4 separate regions of the Homo sapiens genome follow, and all the other regions are linked to region 1. The links are contacts of gene promoters, found by promoter capture Hi-C in blood cells and fetal thymus (Javierre and others, 2016). All regions are on one chromosome and are shown on one strand. The core of a region is centred on a gene start or on the middle of the fragment in contact, and the rest is flanking DNA. Distances in the headings are between cores, read along the strand shown.

Region 1 (3,566 bases), core at 1,067-3,566:
GAATCAGAGACAGAAGAGCTTTAAGATGTGATCCTTTAGTTTGGTTCCAAGTTTCTAAGACAGACCTTTACTCTAAATTCTTTTTACAGAGAACAGAATCATACTGTAAAGTTCCTTTTAATATCTTTCCCAAAGCCAGGGAAAATATTATTCCCCATTAAAATTTTACATCAATATGGGGTATTCCTTAAGCTCTTCACGTTCTCTATTGAAACTATTCAATAATTAACACTTTAAAAATCTGTGTACATGACAGTGCACTGGAGACTGTACATAATAATATGTAAGTTGTCTTATTTCTAGATTGTCTTTCTTAAAAATAGGTTTAAGTTTACAGTAAAAATCCACTGATGCTTCACTACACCCTCCCACAAATATGTATTCAACACATACATTTTAAAATACGCATCTCACAAGCAATCTCAGTAGACTGAAGGCACCTAAAGCAAACTAGAAACCTTATTAAGTTAACCCAATAAAACATTTTAAATATATAACTCAAAAAAAAAAAAACCAACGCCATCATGAACATTTTATTCCAAAAGAATCAGTATGAAATAAAAAAGAGTCTAGAAACACTGTAGGACTTCTTCAAAACAAGGAAACAAACAAAAACTTAGGATGGCTAATAACAGTACTGTACCAATAGAATTGAAAGCAAGCAAGCAAGCAAAAGGAATCTACCTTAAAACACTGCTGCTGCTGTTAAGGAGACCTAGAAGGGAAAGCAAATGCTAGAGCAGGCAATAAAGGCTTCTTTAATATATAGTATAGGTTTTACTAATTTGGGCACAAGATATCTTTCTTCTCAGCTGCTTACATTAGTGAAGTTTATGGGTGAAAAATGCAATTGCTAACTTGAAGAGTGTTGAAATCCAAACTTGCATACAACAGTACAAAGGTCTAAGAAACCATAGCAGGGACTGGTGAAGTATTATTTAGTGAGCTTAGGCCTTACTGCATTTGTCAATCCAAATTTTAAAAACAAATGCCTTACTTACTTTACTCACACAGAAAATTAAGTTTGCAGTATGTAGTAGAAAGCTGTATACCAACAGAATTCTATAAATTTTAAGTATGTTAAAGCAGACTGTACACAACTTAAACCAGTTTTGACTTCAGCTTTTTTAAAGTTATGTAATTTTAAAGCCCAATATTATATCAAAACACAATTGTAAAGCACTGAAATGACTAACAAGTGTTACTTTTTTTTAAGACTTCATACAGTGTCAAAATACCCAAGTATTTTTTACTTTTGAAAAGTTTAACTTCACCCACTTTGTGGAGTCATATAAAAGTTTACTAGTTCAGAACCAAACTAAAGAGATGCATATTTGAGGACACCCTTTCTAGTTAATCCAATCCTCCTCCTTTCAGCACTACATTTGCCTAACGATTCACCATAGGCATATGACATATATGACAGCAAATACTGCTTACCCCCTAAATACACAACAGTCTGAAGAACAGGTGCAATACTATTTAGACACACGCTTTTTCCTTCTAAGCCTAAATTTGCCCTGGAAAGGTATTTAAAAATAAACACAAATACCCAAGAAAGTTAAATAACCCTTTCAAAAAGATGCAGCAATTTTGAGATCCAGGACATGAGCTGTTAACTACCAACAGCTTCCAAATGTGCAGCCTATCAAAGGTTCACATTATGAGGATCGAGTCAAGCTCAACTATGAAGGGTTCCGAGAACATCTCACTTTGCTTCTCCTGCAAGAGTAAGTAACATGATATAACTACGTTTCACTTCAAGGGAATATTAAATCTCTTCAGTCGTTTCATAAATACAGCATCGATCGTCTGGTTTGGTTTTTTTATAGATAAAGAAACGGATGGGGGAAAGGAGATCTAGTGGAGAGTACTGTAAAAAGAAAAATTCAGTGCTGAAAGCGTTGATGAGTCACTAAGTAAGGAATAACTACAGAGAATCCAAGTGAGTAAGGCAGCATCTCAGGTGAGAAAGTACTTAAAGTTGACGATGGGAAATAAAACTTCACAGGTCAGTCCCAAGTCACTGTGCACCCTAGCAGCCCAGGAAAGAAGCGTGGCTGTCAAGGGGCAAGCGCGTACCAAGTCTGAGGGAGGGGGCCAGATACGCCAAATCGGAAAGGGGGGTGGTCCGGAAAAGGGGGGTAAGATGCCTATCCTAGTCCCTCTCTTCGGGCTCTTCATCTCAAGAGGAACAAACAAGAGCAAACTCAGTGTTGAGAGGCCCCAAACCGGACTCTCCCACAGAGAGGTGCTCGGTCCCAAGCCCCGGAGGCCCGGGAAGGCCGCCTCCGGAGGAGCCCCCGCAGACGCCATACTAAAAGCCAAAATGGCTGCCCCGAGGAGGCCCGCACCGCGTAGCCAGTGAAGGTTGGGGAGCAAGCTTATGCGGGAAAGAGGGAGGGGGACTCCAGGAAAAGCCGTTGAGAGGACCATCACAACCTGAGCAGCACAGGTAGGTTCCGCTCGGCCTCCCAAGGCGCCGGCTCCGGCTGAGTGGAGTCCCCAGCCCCACCCCCCGGCCGGGAACCCAGCCGCCGCAGCTCCCGCACACCGACCCCAACGAGGTACCTGCAGTTCGGCCCGTTCCACCTCCCAGTGCGCCCGCTCCATCTCGAACCGAGCCCACTCGTGCTGGATGTAGTGCAGTATCCCCGGGATAGTGTACTGCTGCGGCCGGGACAGCTCGGGGCCTGCCGCGGGACCCGCTCCCTCGGAGGCCGGAGGACCCCCGCCGCCCGCCGCTCCGTTCCCCCCGGGCGAAAGGCCCAGGTTCCCCCCAGGTCCCTGCTGCTGCCGGGGAGGGGCCGCCATCCCCGGGCCGCCACCACCGCCTCCGGCAAGCTCGTCCATTGTGTGTGGGGCCCCGGCCGGGGCGCAGGGCGAGACGCCGACAGCTGGGGGAAGGGCCGGAGAGGGTGGCCCCGCGCTGGCTGCGGGGCGGAGGCCGGCCGGGAGAGGGGCGGGGAAGGGGTCGTTGCTGTGTGCCTGCCGTGGGTCAGAGCAGGGAGCTGCCGGCTGCCGCCATTACAATCCCTCCTCCATCTGCCCGTCTCACTCACTCACTTTAGGGGAAGGGGGGGCCTCGGCGGGAGGGGTGGGGGGAGAGTTGGGAAGGGGATAGGCGGAGGGCCGTCACTAGCGCACAGCATGCTGGGTAGCGAACGCAGCCTCACGCTTAATCGCCAAATAGAGTCCGGCCTCACCCTACGCCGGCGCACTGAGAACGCAGCCCGGGTCGCCGTTAGAGGGCGGGGAAAGAGCTCGGGCTCCGCCCCTAGGCCCGCCCTCAGACCCGATCCGGTGTCTGGCCGCAGCTACCGGACACCTGGGCTCCGACTCTGACTTTTGGAAGCGAGGCGGCCTTAGGCTTCCTGGTTATCAGTTTCCTTTTAGCAGGCCGTCCCCGGGCGCTGTTTCCTTCCCAGGGGTCTCTCACCCGTGTCCCGGCTTTCTGAGCTGGTTGTTAACCTGGCTGGTCGCTCTGGCCGACCGCATCCCGTCTCGGATTCCTGACGTTTCTTTTTCATTCTTTGAGTGTTTCAGGCAGTCCCAAGGGTGGGCCC
Region 2 (3,566 bases), core at 755-3,254, 100 kb before region 1:
TTTATTATTATTTGTGAGACAAGGTCTTGCCCTGTCACCCAGGCTAGAATGCAGTGACACAAACATGGCTCTCTACAGCCTTGATCTCCTTGGCTCTTGACCTCCTGGATTCAAGTGATCCTTCCGCCTCAGCCTGCCCAGTAGCTGGGACCACAGGCACGTACCATCAAGCTTGGCTAATTTAAAAAAAAATTTTGTAGAGACAGGGTCTCACCATGTTGTCCAGGCTGGTCTTGAACTCTTAGGCTCAGGCAATCCACCTACCTCAGTCTCCAGAGTAGCTGGGACCACAGGCATGCACTACCACACTCAGCTAATTTTTGTATTTTTTATTTTTGTAGAGATGGTCTCACCATGCTGCCTAGCCTGGTATTGAGCTCCTGGGGTCAAGCAATCCTCTCTCCTAAGCATCCCAAAGTGCTAGGATTGCAGGCATGAGCCACCATGCCCAGCTAGAAAAACTTTTCTACTACTATGAATACAACCCACCTACCTCTTAACAAATACAAAGTCCTATATAAATGCATAATCCTCTAGACTGACACAATGAAAAACATACTAATTATGCCACGTGTAAGCCAAACTATAGACTACTGTTACATTTTCAAATTCCGCTCAAACACACATACTCATGCCATGAAATTTATCTTCCTACGCCCTATATAACTGTAAGTAAAATAGTACTTTTGAACAAATCTAACATTTCCCCTTTCTCAAATGAGCCCTCCCTTTGTTGATCAACTTTTATATTCTGAAGCTTAACTGTTAGCAGGCAAACAATCTGGAAAAGATACGCTTATTTTAGCACAAAAATTTAGTTAAGTCATGTTTGCTAGATCTGTTCTATTTTCTATCATAATTAAAGCTTTCACAGCTTTATTTAATTTATTTAAGACAATTGTTGTCTTAAATAAATATGAGATCACAATAATAAGAAAAAATAACTTCAGCTGCAAAGTGACTCTTCGGTTTTAAAAAGTGCACTGATTAGAGTATCAATCTGATACATTCTGATCCTAGGCAAAATACCTAAGTTATTTTCTTGAAAGAAAAAAATCCCGAGTTAAAGGACATGAATGTTTGTTTTTAAAGAATGAAATTAAAGCCAGTAACATAAAACCACATGCCTAGTTGAAAATAACATCTCTTTGCTATGAAACAATTTTGTTTTTGTCTTTGAGGGAGGAGAGAGAATATAACTATTTTGTGGGCTCTTCGAATTAGTACTATGTGCTAAACGGAAGTAGCTTAATCATAACAGATAATTTGTAGTGTGAGCAAAGGTGTTTTTAAAAGCCTACTTAAGAGTAAGTTCTTCTTAAATGTATTCAAATACCTAATTTTGGATATTTGGCTTCAAGTCACACTTTAAACAACTGTATTTCCTGGTGACAACATGTTTTCTTGGATCTGGAATAGTAAATGACAAATATTAATACAAAACTTTAAAAATAAAAATTAGAAAATGACTTGGGGGAGCTCACTTATGATTTATATTAAAAGAAATGTTGAAAAAGTTACAAGACTTCCCCCTTTTCAAATGTATTGATAATCAGGCCAGAAGGTGCATAGCAATTCTGCAACACCAGTAACGGAGAGAAGGGAAATGGCAAAAAAGTCATATTCCATATATAGAAAAGACAGAAAAGTTAAGATAAACGAGAATAATTAGGAAAATTAAGATAAGTCCACTCACTAAGAACCAGGAATGCAAACATACATATTCCCCAAATATGAATTTTTAAAATGGGGAAAGCCTATACATCTTTTCAAGAAAGGAAATGAAATAATCTTTTCTTGGTAAGTTTAAATTTTATAGGTATAATATAGCTTAAGAGTAACAACAGGCTATAAGAATAACAGCTCCTATCAAAGGAAAATACATTATTATAATCCACAGTTTAAATTGTCCATGTTGAAAAAGAGTAACAAATATCAAAGAAAGTCTTAAAAGATTTTTAGCTGCTCTCTCATATTCTAACTAAAGCCTCCATATTTCAGATGCTTCGTTCATACTGTGATTTTTAATCATTGATTTATATGTTTTTACTAAGATATAAAATACAGCACAAATGGAGACCTTAAAAAGTTAGAAAAATGCTACCAGCCCAAAATTTTTACAAAAGATTAATTCAAGCTCCTCCCAAATTACAGAAAACATAGAAATTATTAAAAAGTGAAAGAAAACTGAGTTTTAGCTTAGATATTAGTATTGCATCAACACTTACTTCTTGATTTTCATGACTGTACTGTGGTCATACATGAGAGTATCTTTGTTTAAATATATACTAATATATTTAAAGAGCAACATGTCTACAACTTAGTTTTCTGAACTACTCAAAAAAAAAAAAACAAAAAAACAAAAAACAACAAAAAAAAAACATGGCCAGGTACAATGGCTCATGCCTTAAATCTTTTTTTTTTTTTTTTTTTTGAGATGGTCTCCCTCTGTCGCCCAGGCTGGAGTGCAGTGGCGCGATCCTGACTCACTGCAACCTCCGTCTCCTGGGTTCAAGCGATTCTCCTGCCTCAGCCTCCCCAAGTAGCTGGGACTACAGGCATGAGCCACCACGCCCAGCTAATTTTTTTTGTATTTTTAGTAGAGACAAGGTCTCACCATGTTGGCCAGGCTGATCTCAAACTCTTGACCTCAGGTGATCTGCCCGCCTCAGCCTCCCAAAGTGCTGGGATTACATGCATGAACCACTGCACCCAGCCTCATGCTTGAAATCTTAATGCTTTTGGAGGTTGAGGTGAGATGATCAGTTGAGGCCAGGAGTTTGAGATCCGCCTGGGCAACATACAGAGATCCTGTCTATTAAAAAATGTAAAAATTAGCCAGGCATAGTGGTGCACACCTGTGGTCCCAGCAAGGCGGGAGTGGAAAGATTGCTTGAGCTCAGGAGTTTGAGGTTGCAGTGAGCTACAATGTGCTACTGTACTCCATCCGAGGCAGCAGAGTGACAGCCTGTCTCAAAATAAAAAAGAATATATTTACAGAAAGGAAAGGGAAAAGCAAGTGTGGTAAAGTGTTAACATTTGGTGGGTAACCTGGGTGAAAAGTATATGGAATTCTCTGTACTATTCTCACAAAATTTTCTTAAGTCAGAAATTATGTCAAAATAAAAAGTTAAAAGGAAAAGAAAGCTTAACCCTTTGAAGCCTGAGACCAAAATAACTGCATCAAGCCTCTTTAGTTTCTTAGTTTCAAGGTACTGACTCTTAGAGTACTAATAAGATAAAGTGCATCTCAATTATATTGTATATCTCACTTAGTAAGAAAGAAATACTGAAGTGGGTCTACGTTCCAAGACAAGGCTGTCACTTTTAACCCCTTTTCCTCTTGCTGGGGGGAGGGGGCGGGCAGGGGGGTAAAAAAAAGAAGGGTGAGATGGAGTGAACGAGTTGGGAGACACAGAAACTTTAACTTAGCACTTTTAACTTAGCATTTAAAAGTCAAATCTTGAATGGGTCTTTACAAAGTTAAGAAGTCAGTATTCTTGCCATTTTTCTCTTTCCCTTCCAAAAAAAAAGAAAAAAGACTGGATTACATCTGCTGATTCCAT
Region 3 (3,566 bases), core at 530-3,029, 110 kb after region 1:
TTCCTTCTGCGCCCATACGGTAAGAGTTTGAGCCACCAGCATCCCAGGTGACATCAATCCAGCCTGGAAAGGGACAGGAGTTTGTGAGACCCAGCAGAAAGCAGATAGGAGCGTGTCAGACAGTAGCTCCACAATATGGGATCAGCTTTTCATCAGTGCTGTCCTTTTCTGAATTTCTATAGTCAATCAAGGTCTGCCCACTAAAATATATGTAAATTTTTGGACTCAATTATTTGACGATATGACTAGCTATCTGAAAGTCTATATTATTTAACTCTCATGATACAAATATTTTAAGGACAAGAAATATGTACTCTATACAAGGTTTCCAGGAAATGTTTAAAATTCTTCCTTTTATTTCCCTTATTTCTGAACTATTCAGTCTATGACATTTAAAAGCAATGTAAGGGTCATGTTTAAATCTACTGGGTTATATTTCATTTTTAAAATTATTTGATTTTTAGAGATGAGGTCTTGCGTTGCCCATGCTAATCTTGAACTCCTGGGCTTAAACGATCCTCCCACCTCAGCCTCTGGAGTAGCTGGGATTATAGATGTGAGCCACTGCACCTGGCTTGGTTACTTCTTAAATGGAAGAACTGTTTAAGAAATTTTAAAAGATTGATATACATGGTAAAATACTGCCACTTCAGCAAGTAAACAGAATCTAGGTAAAAGTTTTAAAACTGCTAAATATAATTATGTGTAGTCAAATTTTTTTTCTACAAAAACATGCCAGCTTACCATTAATTTCTTACAATTTGGGCTAACCTCTCAAAATATTCATATATTGCCATAGAAATTTTAGTCACTAGTTCAAATAAAACACTAAAGTTAGCATTTCGGTTGTGTTCTCAAAGTTCAGTGGTTCCTTGGTTCTCTTATATTAAATAATTAAGTTCAATAAATTTGAATAAACACAGAAAATTCTAAAAAAAAATTTAAAGAGCATACTGAACTCTTTTATTAGAACTATCTGCTAAAGCTAATAACATGTACAGAATTAACGAGCATAATGATATTCAATCTATATATTTACTTGTAGTAGAAAAATGATATTCTTTTTTTAAAAAGGTAATTAACTTCCAAAAGCAAAAAAAAAATTGTCTATTAAAAGCAAATTAATAGAAATTTTACAATCTTATTTTAGTGTTATAAGCTAACTATTTCAGGGAAAAACATAAGACATAAAAAACATTTTTTTAGAAGTATAACAAGCCTTTATAAAGTTCTTACCCATACATAAAAGGGGCCCAAGATCACATACACACCCATCCACACACCCAGATGCTCACCCACACTTACACCAAGTTCATATGTTTATGATAGCACTCAGAGGGAAATAATATTGAATTACCTGTGGGGATTATCTGCATATGTGTTCTTTGAAAGGAAAAGTGACTGCCCCAAATCTACATAAGTAGCTTAGATGAGATTTTTCAATTGCCTCTATTTTTTTCTGTATGCTGAAATAATCTCTGAAGAACCAACATTTAACTATCTCTTCTGCTACACAGAAATGTGTGAGAAAAGGAAAAGTTTCAAAAACATAGCCCAATCTCAAATAAAAGTAACTTTTGTATTATATTAATTGGCCCAAAAAACATACTCTCTCAACTCCTTCTACACCCAAAAGATAAACCAAAAAAAAAAAAAAATAGAGTCAGTAATGACTATCCATCATTAGAAATGGTTGGTTTAAGTATTTGAAAGCTAAGAACCCTCTCTGACATAGAGACTCAAAGGCATAACTTGATGGGAATGGCCATGTTGATTAGGCAAAACTAAATTTCTACATTTGTCAGATTAGCAAAAATAGGCCTTTCTTGAACGCTAAACTCTGAGATTTCTAGGCTAGGTGATTTTTTTTTTTCCCATCTGTGGCAGCTAAAACGAACAAACAAACAAAAAACACTCAAAATATTCAGATGTACATGTTAGCACTCTCTCATAGGGAGGTGCCATACCTCACGGTTCAAATATATTTTATAGATCAGTAACATTATTATACTGACATGTAATTGCAACTTACTATGCAGCAAAAATGAATCGAGAAGAAAAATAACCCACAGTGTCTATTTACCTTTGTATAGGCAATTGCTTAAGTTACTCTGCTTTTAACATTTGTACTTCAATAAAATGCTTATGTATGTATAGGAATGTCACAGTGCAAGATGCTGCTAGTACAGGCACAAAGTATTAAAATTATTTTTTGAAGACTGGTGGTTGTATTAAAACTGTTGTGCCATTGTATCTTGGGAAAAAAAAAAAGATTCTAATTTCCCTATGCAATTGCTTCAGTTGACTCCATCCTGAGAAAAAAGAACTGCATTCACACATCTCTAACTAGCCTCTTCTTATCAAGTCACATACATCAAGGCCAAAACAATTACAGGAAATAGAATAACAACTTTTTAATAAGTATCATCAAGATGCCTAAAAAGAAAACTTGAAATTTTCTGAGTTGAATGGCACTACTATTCAACTCAGTATAACAATAATAGTTGATATCTCAACTATTACTGGTATTTATGAATTTTAGGTCGCTGTAAACCTGTTTTGATTACAATGATTTGCAATTAGGGCATGATACTACATAAATACATTTGGCAGTAAAATAATTCAAGGAATAGAATCTTAAAAGCAATATAGTCAAAGGGTTTATTTGAATAAATAAATGTCTTTACCACATAAAACATGAAATTAAATGTCAGTCATTCTCGTAAGTACCGTCACATTTATTCTAGCTCTTTAAATATGTGGTGTAAGTTGCCGCGTGCGGTGGCTCACGCCTGTAATCCCAGCTCTTTGGGAGGCCGAGGTGGGTGGATCACCTGAGGTCGGGAGTTCAAGACCAGCCTGACCAACATGGAGAAACCCCGTCTCTACTAAAAATACAAAATTAGCCAGGCATGGTGGCCCATGCCTATAATCCTAGCTAGTCAGGAGGCTGAGACAGTAGAATCGCTTGAACCTGGGAAGCAGAGGTTGCAGTGAGCTGATATTGCGCCATTGCACTCCAGCCTGGGCAACAAGAGCGAGACTCTGTCTCAAAAAAAAAAAAAAAAATACATATATATACACACACATATATGTGGATATATATATGTGGTGTAAGTTGAGAATATAAACATTTTTACTTTTTTTAATGCCAAAAACTGATACAAAATTGATGAAAACAAACCCACTGCCATTTAGGCAAATTATCTGCTAATAAGTCAGCCTTATAGTTTGAAGAAAATAATTAGCCACTATAATTGCTTTAAAGTTAATAGCAATTTATTAAGTGGATGACTTTGCTAAACTGTGCAGCATCAAAGAAACTTGATTCACATAGCAATATTTAGAAAACATGATAAACTCCTCCCCAAAAAGCAGGTAGGCTAAGAAACACTTTGAAATAATAATAATCTACTAACAGATAAAGAGACAATGTTTCTTGTTCCATGCATTATTAAAAAACAGTAAAAATGTTAATCCTTTTTCTTCTATATGATTTATGATACCATAAAAATTATGGTGTGAGACTAACAAGATAAAGAAAAACATAAGAAATTAAAATAAAA
Region 4 (3,566 bases), core at 350-2,849, 69 kb after region 1:
AAGGCATTTTGAGTAACGCTGTTTTCTGAAAGCTATTTTTTTTTTTTTGAGACGGAGTCTAGTCTAGCTGTGTCACCTGGCACATTCTCGGCTCACTGCAACCTCCACTTCCGGGGTTCAAGCGATTCTCCTGCCTCAGCCTCCGAGCTGGGACTACAGGCATGCACCACCACACCTGGCTAATTTTTGTATTTTTAGTAGAGACAGGGTTTCACCATGTTGGCCAGGCTGTCTCAAACTCCTGACCTCAGGTGATCTGCCTGCCTCAGCCTCCCAGAACGCTGGGATTACAGATGAGCCACAGTGCCTGACTTCTGAAGGCTGTCTTATTCCTTTAAAAGGCTTAGTAAAATTAACTTTTTAAGAGGTGTTTTTTTGTTTGTTTTTTTGTTTTGTTTTTTAAGACGGAGTCTTGCTCTGTCACCCAAGCTGGAGTGCAGTGGTGTGATCTCAGCTCACTGCAACCTCCACCTCTGGGTTTAAGCAATTCTCCTGCCTCAGCCTCCTGAGTAGCTGCGACTACAGGCATGTAGTCCCCAGGAGACTGAGCTGTGATTACAGATGTGAGCCACCATGCCCTGCCCGGTTTTATGTAAAGCCCAGCTAATTTTTGTATTTTTAGTAGAGATAGGGTTTCACCATGTTGGCCAGGCTGTTCTTGAACTCCTGACCTCAAGTGATCCACCTGCTTCAGCCTCCCAAAGTGCTGGGATTACAAGCATGAGCCACCATGCCCAGCCAAGAGGTGTTTTTTGTTTGTTTGTTTTTAAGAGAAGCAGGTCTTGCTGTGTTGTCCAGGCTGGACTGCAGTGGCTTTTCACAAGCATGATCATGTTGTACTACAACCTTGAACCTTCCTGGCCTGGCTCTAAAAGCTTTGTAATGTGGGGCTGGTGCAGTGCCTCACACCTGTAACCCCTGCACTTTGGGAGGCTGAGGAAGGAGGATCGCTTGAGGCCAGAAATTCAAGACCAGCCTGGGCAACATAGACCTCATCTCTACAAAAAATGCAAAAATCAGCCGGGTGTGGTGGCACATACCTGTAGTCTCAACTACTCGGGAGTCTGAGGCAGAAGATTTCTTGAGCCCAGGAGTTCGAGTCTGCAGTGAGCTATGATCGTGTCACTGCACTCCAGCCTGGGTGACAGAGTGAAACCCTGTCTCAAAAATAAAAAAGTCCGAGTGCGGTGGCTCAGGCCTGTAATCCCAACATTTTGGGGGGCCAAGCCAGGAGGATTGGTTGAGCCCATTAGTTCAAGACCAGCCTGGGCAACACAGCAAGACCATATCTCTACAAAAAATAAATAGGTGTGATGGCTCATGCCTGTAATCCTAGTACTTTGGGAGGCCGAGGCAGGCAGATCACTTGAGGTCAGGAGTTTGAAACCAGCCTGGCCAACATGGCAAAACCTTGTCTCTACTAAAAATACAAAAAGTTAGCCAGGCATGGTGGCAAGCACCTCTAATCTCAGCTACTCAGGAGGCTGAGGCAGTAGAATTGCTTGAACCCGGGAGGCAGAGGTTGCAGTGAGCCGAGATCATGCCACTGCACTCCAGCCTGGGCGACAGAGTGAGACCCTGTCTCTAAAAATAAGTAAATAACTAATTAAAAAGTTAGCCAGCTGTGGTGGTGAGCACCTGTACTCCTAACTACTCAAGAGGCTGAGATGGGAGAATTGATCAAGCCTAGGAGTTTGAGGCTGCAGTGAACTATGATCACAACACTGTACTCCAACCTGGGTAATGGAGTGAGGCCCTGCCTCAAAAACACAAAAACAAAACAAAAAAACTTTTATAACATGTACCTAACAAAGATGCAGAGTTAAATTTTATTTGCCAGTTTGTAAAAGCCTTTGATACTCATTTTAAGGGCACTTAGTAATTACAATGCCATTATGTAATTAACTCTATAGAGAACATTACTTTCAAATAATGGATGGTCAGACATTAAGACAGCCCCAGAGAGCCCCTACAGCTATCCTTTATCCCGTTTTTTGTTTGTTTTTTGGAGACAGCATCTCCGTCTCCTAGGCTGGAGTGCAGTGGTGTGATCATGCCTCACTACAGCCTGTACCTCCTGGGCTCAGGTGCTCCTCCCACCTCAGCCTCCTGAGTAACTGGGACCACAGGTGCGCACCCCCTCCACCCAGCTAATTTTTGTATTTTGTTGTAGAGATAGGGTTTCACTATGTTGCCCAGACTGGTCTCGAATTCCTGCAGTCACATGATCCATCTGCCTTCGCCTTCCAAAGTGTTGGGATTACAGGCCTGAGCCACTGTGCCCAGTCTTTTTATGCCACATTTTAAAAGGTTTGCTTATTAATAAGCTTACTGTTAATGAAATTTAGTTCAAAGTTTAAAAGTAGAATGCAGCCAGGCATGGTGGCTTACGCCTATAATCCCAGCACTTTGGGACGCCAAGGTGGGTAGATCATTTGAGGTCAGGAGTTCAAGACCAGCTTGGCCAACATGGTGAGACCCTGTCTCTACTAAAACTACGAAAAATTAGCCGGGCATGGTGGCACGCGCCTATAATCCCAACTACTTGGGAGGCTGTGGTAGGAGGATCACTTGAACCCAGGAGACAGAGGTTGCAGTGAGTTGAGATCGAGATTGTGCCACTGCACTCCAGCCTGGGCACAGAGTGAGATTCCGTCTCAAAAAAAAAAAAAAAAAAAAAAGTAGAAAGCAAGAAAGTGTCTCTGTACAGGTAGGCATGAAATGAATCCTTCTCTTCCTCCCCTTTACTCCTTTAACCCCTTCTCCTGCAATGTCTTGAAGTAAATTACTGTCATTACAGAAGAGCAATGCACTGCATCCCCCCAAAACCTTTCTATATGCTTTTGCTACCCCGTTAACAGAAGAATATACAGAACTGTCTTAGGCGAAAGTATGTACAGTAGTCCCTCTCTTATCCACTGTTTCGCATTCTGTGGTTTGTGTTACTCATGGTCAACTGAGGTCCCAAAATATTAAACAGAAAATTCCAGAAATAAACAATGTATAAGTTTTAAACTGCATGCCATTCTGAGTAGTGTGATGAAATCTTGCACCATCCCACTTTGTCCTGCTCTGTCCCGCTCCGTCTTGCCTGGGAGGTGAATCGTCCCTTTGTCCAGCATATGCATGCTGTATACACTCCCCACTTGACAGTCATTTGGTAACTGTCTTGGTTACCAGATGGACAGATCATGAGAAGAGTGAGTACAGTGCAATAAGGTCTTGAGAGAGACTACATGCATATACATATATATATATAAAATTATTTTTCGTTTTTTTTTAAAGACAGGGTCTTGCTCTGTTGCCCAGGCTGCAGTGCAGTGGCATGATTACGGCTCACTGCAGCCTCAACCCCTTGGGCTCAAGCAATCCTCCCATCTCAGCTTCCCAGGTAGCCGGGACCACAGGTGTGTGCCACCCCACTCAGCTAATTTTTTTTATTTTTTGTAGAGACAAGGTCTCCATATGTTGCCCAGGCTAGTCTTGAATTCCTGGGCTCAAGCGATCCTCCTTACCTCAGCCTCTGAGTGCTGGGATTACAGGTATGAGCTAACACACCTGGCCAT

The links. Contacts are between HindIII fragments. The CHiCAGO score rates a contact against its expected background, and 5 or more counts as called.
Region 2: a fragment that was not itself captured here is called in contact with the fragment with the promoter of AP4S1 in region 1 in 1 of 17 cell types (erythroblasts); the score reaches 5.8 in erythroblasts.
Region 3: a fragment that was not itself captured here is called in contact with the fragment with the promoter of AP4S1 in region 1 in 1 of 17 cell types (erythroblasts); the score reaches 5.5 in erythroblasts.
Region 4: a contact is called between a fragment that was not itself captured here and the fragment with the promoter of AP4S1 in region 1, in 1 of 17 cell types (erythroblasts). The highest score is 7.1, in erythroblasts.

What each region holds. Positions count from the first base shown.
Region 1 is chr14:31,023,333-31,026,898 of GRCh38, forward strand. AP4S1 (adaptor related protein complex 4 subunit sigma 1) reads left to right here and starts at 2,317. Exons shown (of 6, transcript NM_001128126.3): 1 at 2,317-2,455. STRN3 (striatin 3) reads right to left here and starts at 3,047. Exons shown (of 18, transcript NM_001083893.2): 1 at 2,572-3,047. The coding sequence starts at 2,853. RefSeq lists enhancers at 1,996-2,095, 2,166-2,275, 3,386-3,545 and silencers at 2,265-2,446, 2,586-2,845, 2,936-3,255. The HindIII fragment of the contact is 24,948 bases long and covers 1-2,381 here.
Region 2 is chr14:30,921,874-30,925,439 of GRCh38, forward strand. The region is part of intron 8 of STRN3 (striatin 3); the gene reads right to left. Among named protein-coding and RNA genes, the nearest start is that of COCH-AS1, 34 kb to the left of the region's middle. The HindIII fragment of the contact is 2,282 bases long and covers 864-3,145 here.
Region 3 is chr14:31,129,386-31,132,951 of GRCh38, forward strand. It overlaps HECTD1 (HECT domain E3 ubiquitin protein ligase 1), which reads right to left. Exons shown (of 43, transcript NM_015382.4): 25 at 1-63. Among named protein-coding and RNA genes, the nearest start is that of HECTD1, 77 kb to the right of the region's middle. The HindIII fragment of the contact is 3,591 bases long and covers 1-3,566 here.
Region 4 is chr14:31,093,431-31,096,996 of GRCh38, forward strand. It overlaps AP4S1 (adaptor related protein complex 4 subunit sigma 1), which reads left to right. Exons shown (of 6, transcript NM_001128126.3): 6 at 1-3,020. Among named protein-coding and RNA genes, the nearest start is that of STRN3, 69 kb to the left of the region's middle. The HindIII fragment of the contact is 1,452 bases long and covers 874-2,325 here.